Regions from separate parts of the Homo sapiens genome. Here region 1 is linked to region 2. The links are contacts of gene promoters, found by promoter capture Hi-C in blood cells and fetal thymus (Javierre and others, 2016). All regions are on one chromosome and are shown on one strand. The core of a region is centred on a gene start or on the middle of the fragment in contact, and the rest is flanking DNA. Distances in the headings are between cores, read along the strand shown.

Region 1 (3,486 bases), core at 31-2,530, about 14 Mb after region 2:
AAAAGACAACTCCAATAAAAAATGAGCAAAGAACTTAAACAGCCAAAGATACATAAATTGCCAACAAGCACATGAAAAGCTGCTCAAAAGCATCAGTAGTCAGGGAAATGTTAATCAAAACCACAATGAGATGCTACATCATACTCACTAGGAAGGCTAGATTTAAAAAAAAAAGAAAAAGAAAAGCAAATGTTGGTGAGGATACGGAGAAACTGGAACCCTCATTAAGCACAGAATTACTACATAACCCAGCAGATCTACTCTTAGGTATTATACCCCGAAGAACAGAAAAAAGGCACTCAAACAAATGCATGTACACACATGTTCACAGCGGCATTCATTCATAACAGCCAAAAAGTAGAAACAATTCAAACGTTCAACTGATGAATGGATAAACCATTGTGATACCGCCATACAATGGAATATTATTCAGCCATAACAACGAATGAAGTACTGATACGTGCTGCAAGGTGGATGAACCTGATACATTATGCTAGGTGAAGGAAGCCAGACACAAAAGGTCGTGTGTATGATTCCATTTACATGAAATGCCCAGAATAGGTAAATCCATAGAGACAGAAAGCGGACTGGTGGTTGCCAAGGCCTGGGAGGGAGAGGAGGATTGGCCGTAAGTGCTTCATGGAGTTGGCTGTCCTTCGGCGAAATATTTTGGAAATAGCAGAATGGTGCTTGCACAACATTGTAAATTTACTAAACGCCACTGAATTGTTCACCTTAAAATGGTCAATATTACGTTATGTGAATTTCACTTTAATTACAAAAAGAGAAACGCTAGCGTTTACGCAGGCGGAGGGCAGGCTGGACTGGGGACGCTCCTCCCGGCCGCCTCGTTGCTGGCAGCGCTTCCGCCCGCCGGCGCACCAGTCAGTACCGCGCCCGGCGAATGTGGAGGGCGAAGCTGCGGCAGGGCAATCACAAAAGGGCTGTCAGAGAGGAGGCGAGGCGGGAGGAAGATGGAGAGGCGGGTGGGAGCCTCACCTTTGGACTCTATCGCCACAGCCCGGTCTAGCCGCTACGCCCGAGCTCAAGTCTGACTCGAAACTCCGCTGGGTGCCTGAGAGGACCCGGCAGGCCAAGGGGTGGAACTGAGGGGGCGGGGACGCGGCGGGCGGGTGGGGCCGCCTCCCGGCTGGGCACGCCTCCAAGCCAGACTGGACGCGAAGGAAACCGGAACCTGTCTGCCTACGGTGCCTGTTTCCGGAAGCAGCTTGAGTCCGGACACCAACGACGGGGACGCTGGGAAGCCGACTTCCGGCGCCCTATTTTCTCACCTGGTTCCCGCGGCGAGCCAGCGGCAGCGGCGGCGGCGATGAGACAGAAGCACTACCTTGAGGCTGCAGCGCGGGGACTGCACGACAGCTGCCCGGGCCAAGCCCGCTACCTCCTGTAAGAGGACTGGAGGGGAAGCGGGAGGCGAGCGGGTAGGTGTTCCTTTGCTCCTCACAAGTCTCTTTCTCTTTTACAGCTGGGCCTACACTTCGTCGCACGGTAAGAAGAACGCCTGTCTCTTGTGCTTTGGGCTCTTGTCGCCCCGCTTTCCTCTGTTCCGCACAACGCTCAAATAAGGCCGATGGACTCACTTCCCTCCATAAAAACAACAACAACAAAGCCCGCATGTGTCTCGGTTTCGTGAAAAATCCAAATTCTTTAATGTGCCTTGTCTTGCTTTGTTAGCGGCATTTGACACATTGATCAGTCTTGAAATAGTTTCCTCCCTTGGCTTCTAGGTCATTACGTAGTTCACCTCTTCATTTATTACTTCTCGATTTGCTTTGCTGGTTCCTCCTAATCTCCCCAAGCTTTAAGTATTGTCGTGGCCCAGTACTCAGCCCTTGGACCTCTTTTCTAGGCACACTCGCTTCCTTGGTGACAGTTTTTCATCCAATCTCATGGCTTTTAAATACCATATACTGAGGACTTACAAATGTATATACTCAGCGCAGACCTCTCCTCTGAATTCTAGACTCATATATCCGAATGTCTTCTTGACAAATTCTTTTCAATGTCTAGTAATTCAAACTTAGCTAATATGTCCAAAACCTGAGCTTTAACCCCCAACAAGATCCTCCAGTTTTTCTCATTTCAGTAAATAATTCCATTCTTCCCTTACAGTTATTGAGCCCAAAAACCTTGGAGCTATTCTTGACTCCCTAACTCTCTCTCCTCCCCCAGGCCAGTATGCGAGCAAATCCTGTTGGCTTTAAAATGTAGCCAAAATCAGCCAGGAGCGGTGGCTCACCCCTGTAATCCCAGCACTTTGAGATGCAGAGGCGGGCGGATCATTTGAGGCCAGGAGTTCGAGACCAACCTGGCCAACATGGCGAAACGCTGTCTCTACTAAAAATACAAAAAAATTACCTGGCATGGTGGTGCACGCCTGTAATCCCAGCTACTCGAGAGGGTGAGGCATGAGAATCTCTTGAACCCGGGAGGTGGAGGTTGCAGTGAGCGGAGATGGCGCCATTGCACTCCACTCCTCACCACATCCATTGCTACTACCCTGCTCCAGGCCATCACCAGCTCTCTCCTGGATTAATAAAAGTGAAAGTCCTTTAAAAGGATTGTAAGGCCCTGTGTCATAGACCTGCATACCTCTCTGACGTACTCTTTCCTTCACGCAACTCCAGTCACACTAGGTCTCCTTGCTTTTCTGTTTCAGGGCCTTTGCAGGTACTCTTCACTCTGCCTGGGATTCTTGCCTCACATATCTGCTTTCATGTGAATCCTCCATTTCCCTCTGGTCTCTATAATATCACTCAATGAAGCTTTCCCTAGCCACCTATTTAAAATTACAGTAACTCCATCAATACTTCTATTCCCCCCTCCTATCTTACTTTTTTATTCCCAGCACTTAACATTTGACGTTGTTATATTTATTGTATGCCTCGGTGAATTGTCCTTTGTTCACTGCTGTGTCTCCAGCACTTAGAACAGTGCCTGGCATTCTTAATTGTCACTTAGTGAATATGAATGAGTTTCACATTTGGCAGAGCTAAGTTTAAGTGTGGTCTTTAGCTTTATAAGTGCTGTTGCATCCCTGGCACTTAGCACAGTGCTCAACAGTAGATACTATTCATTGTGCTAATTATTTAAAAAAAGAAACAAAATCGCAGTGCAATTTGTTATTTTGTGGTAAATGCATTGGTAAAATTGGTGAAACATAACAGCCTTTTAAAACTTAGTAGCAAGTAATGAGAAGTGGCTAGATTTAGGATATATTTTAAAGCCTACAGGATTTGCTAGCATAGGTTGGAGATTTGCCTATCTGTTGCTGAAAGGAGTGAATGGATGGAATTGTAGTATTTTGCAAGGTAAATTACTGCCAATTTATCTTTTTGTAAATTTTCATATTTTGAGTTTACTTAATGTGTATCTGCTTATATTAAATTTCAATATACTTTTTATAAATGTTGACAGTTTGAGGTAACAAAATATTCTGATTTGCTGAATTGTGAGTTTCATTTG
Region 2 (3,582 bases), core at 968-3,467:
GTCAGGAGTTCAAGACCAGCCTGGCCAACACGGTGAAACCCTATCTCTACTAAAAATACAAAAAAATTAGCCGGGCATGGTGGCACTTGTCTGTAATCCCAGCTACTCGGGAGGCCGAGGCAGGAGAATCACTTGAACCCAGGAGGCGGAGATTGCAGTGAGCCGAGATCTCGCCACTGCCCTCCAGCCCGGACGACAGAGTGAGACTCCATCTCAAAAAAAAAAAACAAACAATTACTTGTTCACTACAGGATTATAATATTGATTGAGAAAGGTGAGACAATAGCATATTTTCCTCAGTTAGCAATGATAAAGGAGTTCTAGCTCGTAAGCCAGGACAAATTTTGGAATTGTGCTTCCAAAGTCACATATCTGACCCAACAGTGATACTCTGCATTCTGCCTAAAAGGGAAAAAGTGGCTCTATTACAGTCCTAGTTTCCTCATTTCCTCACATGCTCTAGGCCTGAATTTGCGACTTCCAAATTAAGCACGTTTTAAAGCACTTCTCATCCTACTCCCATGTCTAATTCCATTGATTAGATTTTTTGCTTTTCAAAAAAAAAAAAAAATTCACCAGGCACAGTGGCTCAGGCCTGTAATCCCAGCACTTTTGGAGGCCCAGGTGATCACTTGATCCCAGGAGTTCGAGACCAGCCTGGGCAACATGGCGAAACGCCGTCTCAACAACAAATAGAAAACTTAGCCTAACATGGTAGCGGACGCCTGTAGTCTCAGCCACTCAGGGAGGCGGAGGTGGGAGGATTGCTTGGGGCCGGGGAGGGAGGTCAAGGCTGCAGTGAACAGTGATTACACCACTGCAATCCAGTCTGGGCGACAGAGCGAGACCCCGTCTCAAAATAAAATAATAACTTAAAACTTTATTCGTGTTGGTGTCCTGTGTAAAGCAGAAACTAAGTACTTGACCAGAAGACAAAGTGAATATAGCATAGTTCACTGCAACCTGGATGTTTTCAACTGAAATCTATGTTTTATCCACTTTTTTAAAAAAGCCAATGCTGGTGGGGGGACTAACCACACCTTATGCCACCAAGTAGCGCTTTTGTTTCCTGCGAAGCTTATTTATTGAGATATCGTTTTGTAATACTATCTAGATACTGTGTGCTGCGATTCCTGTTTAAAGGAATCTCATTGCAGCTAAGACTACAGAAAACATGGTTCATAGTACTTCTCAAATCGCAAAGCTTGAGCTCCTTCCTCCTCCTCTTCCTCCCTCCCCTGGTCCCCGCTGCGTCCCCATCGCCCCGGAAAATAAAGCACACGCCGGATTTTCGGACGCATCATTGAGAGGCGGAGGGAGAGGAGGTAGTCTTCGAATTGTTGGACTTGCTATCCCATTCTGCCTGTGCAAAATAAACCCCCATAGTAAAATAATCTTAACCCGTGATAAAAATCGAGGACCCAATTCTCTTTGGTTCGCCTCTCTCCATCGCTATAAACTTCACTGCGGCCCTCAATGCACTCATTTCTACTCCAGAGCCGCCCTACCTGTGCCGAGACCCCCATTTGCAGCATGAGTTACTCTATGACCTTGGGCCCGCTCCCCTCCCAAACTGAAGGCTGTAAAACCAAGACCCCACATCGCGCCCCGCAAACTGCAGAGGCCTCCAGGCTCAGGCCGGGTCAGCGGGTTGCGCCAGGAGGCGGCGAGGGACTGGCTCCGGTGAAGCGCCGGGAAGAGAAAACGCAGGGGGCGGAGACGGGGCCCGGAGCTACCTGCGGGACCAGCACTGGCGCTGCCCCGGTGCTAGCAATGGCTGCGCGCCACCTCGGGGCTCCCGGAGCCCTCGCGGCAGTGCTGGGAACTCCGGCCCTGCCCCGTCGGCGGTCACGACCCCTTATGAACTTCGACCGCCCAGCAAACAGCGGCAGGTGGTGCGCGGACACGCGAGCACGTTAGCTGCCTACCTCAAGCGACGGCGTCTTGGAGCCTAGAGCCTCCCACCTCCCTCCCAGGGGCGCGAAGAGCTGGGACCGGAGCAGTAGGAAGGGGCGTGCGAGGCAACACGCCACCGAGGGTGGAACAGGAAGAGGGAGAACTGTCCGCTCCCTGAAGGGGCTGGCAAAAGAGAGGTGAAGACACAGGCGGCGGGGACCGTCAGGGACGCTCGCGTACCTTCCTTTTGCCTGGCGGAGGGTCAGACTAGCGCCAGCGGATCGCCTCACATCCGGGTATCAGGAGACACTCAGCTGCTTCTGCTGCGGCCGCCGCCTCCCCCGCGGCGCAAACACCAAACTTCCGGCGACGACGGCGACGCCTCGCTCGTCAGATGGGAGTTACCTGTGACCGTCTTGGGTGCGCTTGCGCAACGCTCCTCTTCAGCCCTAACCGGCTCAGCTGACGTGCCCAGAAGACGAAGATGGCCGCCACGCTCACTGCGTGTCACGCAGTTTTTCACCCCGGCCCGGACGGCTGGGCGTCGAGGAAAGGCGAGCTAGTGTCCATCCTCAGCGCAGGCGCGGTGGGAGGCCTAGCGCGCGCGCCTCCGCGGGTGGTCGCCTGGCAGGGAAGTGGCGGCGCCCCCTAGCGGCGGCCGCTTGTCGTTCCTGGGGTCATCGCTTTGAGCTGAAAACCACCCAGGCCCCCAGCGGTTGTGGTTTACCTTGGAAATTTGTCGCAACTGGTTGCCATGTAGGTTTTGGCTGCTTCTGTCTGCGATGTATAATCCAAGTGCCTTTGGTCTTCCATATGAGCCAATGTAAAGAAGGAGGGTGGGGCCGGGCGCGGTGGTTCACGCCTGTAATCCCAGCACTTTGGGAAGCAGAGGCGGGTGGATCATTTGAGGTTAGGAGTTCGAGACCAGCCTGGCCAACATGGCCAACATGGTGAAACCCCGTCTCTACTAGAAATACAAAAATTAGCCGGGTGGTAGTGGCGTGCGACTGTAATCCCAGCTACTCGAGAGGCTGAGGCGGGAGAATCCCTTGAGCCTGGGAGGCGGAGGTTGTGGTGAGCTGAGACTGGGCCACTGCACTCTAGTCTGGACGAGTGAGACCCTGTCTCAAATAAAAAAAAAAGGAGGGTGCAGTCCCTACACTGCCCTCCAGCACCTCCAAAAAATGCAGGGCTTCGCCCTCTCCTTGCACACTTTCTTCCTGTGTATCAGAGTGCAAGAATCATCAGAAATTGTAAAATATTCTGCTAGACTTAGTCAGACTGAGTGTTCAGACAAAGCTTTGGCTCGCTCTTGGACGCCTCTAGAGATAGAATCCAAGATTCTATCACTAGGATTCATGGTTCCCACACTTCTTTCTTTTGTGACAGGAAGGATCTTGCTGTGTAGCCCTGGCTGGTGTGCAGTGGCACAGTAACGGCTCACTGCAGCCTCGACTTGGGCTCAAGCGATCCCACCTGCCTCAGCCTCCCTGAGAACTGCATGTATGAAGCCCACGACACCATGCCAGGCTAATTTTTTTTTTTTTTTTTGAGATGGAGTCTCACTCTTGTCACCCAGGCTAGAGTGCAATGGCACGATCTCGGCTCACTGCAACCTCCGCCTCCCAGGTTCAAGGAATTCTCCTGCCTCAGCCTCCTGAGTAGCTGGGACTACAGGTGCCTGCC

Evidence for each region. Contacts are between HindIII fragments. The CHiCAGO score rates a contact against its expected background, and 5 or more counts as called.
Region 1: a contact is called between the fragment with the promoter of RMP24 here and the fragment with the promoter of ESCO1 in region 2, in 1 of 17 cell types (total CD4 T cells). The highest score is 5.7, in total CD4 T cells.

Annotation. Positions count from the first base shown.
Region 1 is chr18:35,971,399-35,974,884 of GRCh38, forward strand. RMP24 (ribonuclease MRP subunit p24) reads left to right here and starts at 1,281. Exons shown (of 5, transcript NM_031446.5): 1 at 1,281-1,407; 2 at 1,487-1,509. The coding sequence starts at 1,331. It overlaps LOC105372066 (a long non-coding RNA gene), which reads right to left and starts at 1,053. Exons shown (of 4, transcript NR_188032.1): 1 at 1,000-1,053. RefSeq lists silencers at 768-1,062, 1,002-1,151 and an enhancer at 1,071-1,963. The HindIII fragment of the contact is 7,007 bases long and covers 1-1,818 here.
Region 2 is chr18:21,598,487-21,602,068 of GRCh38, forward strand. It overlaps ESCO1 (establishment of sister chromatid cohesion N-acetyltransferase 1), which reads right to left and starts at 2,218. Exons shown (of 12, transcript NM_052911.3): 1 at 2,137-2,218. RefSeq lists enhancers at 562-856, 1,924-2,443. The HindIII fragment of the contact is 1,991 bases long and covers 1,203-3,193 here.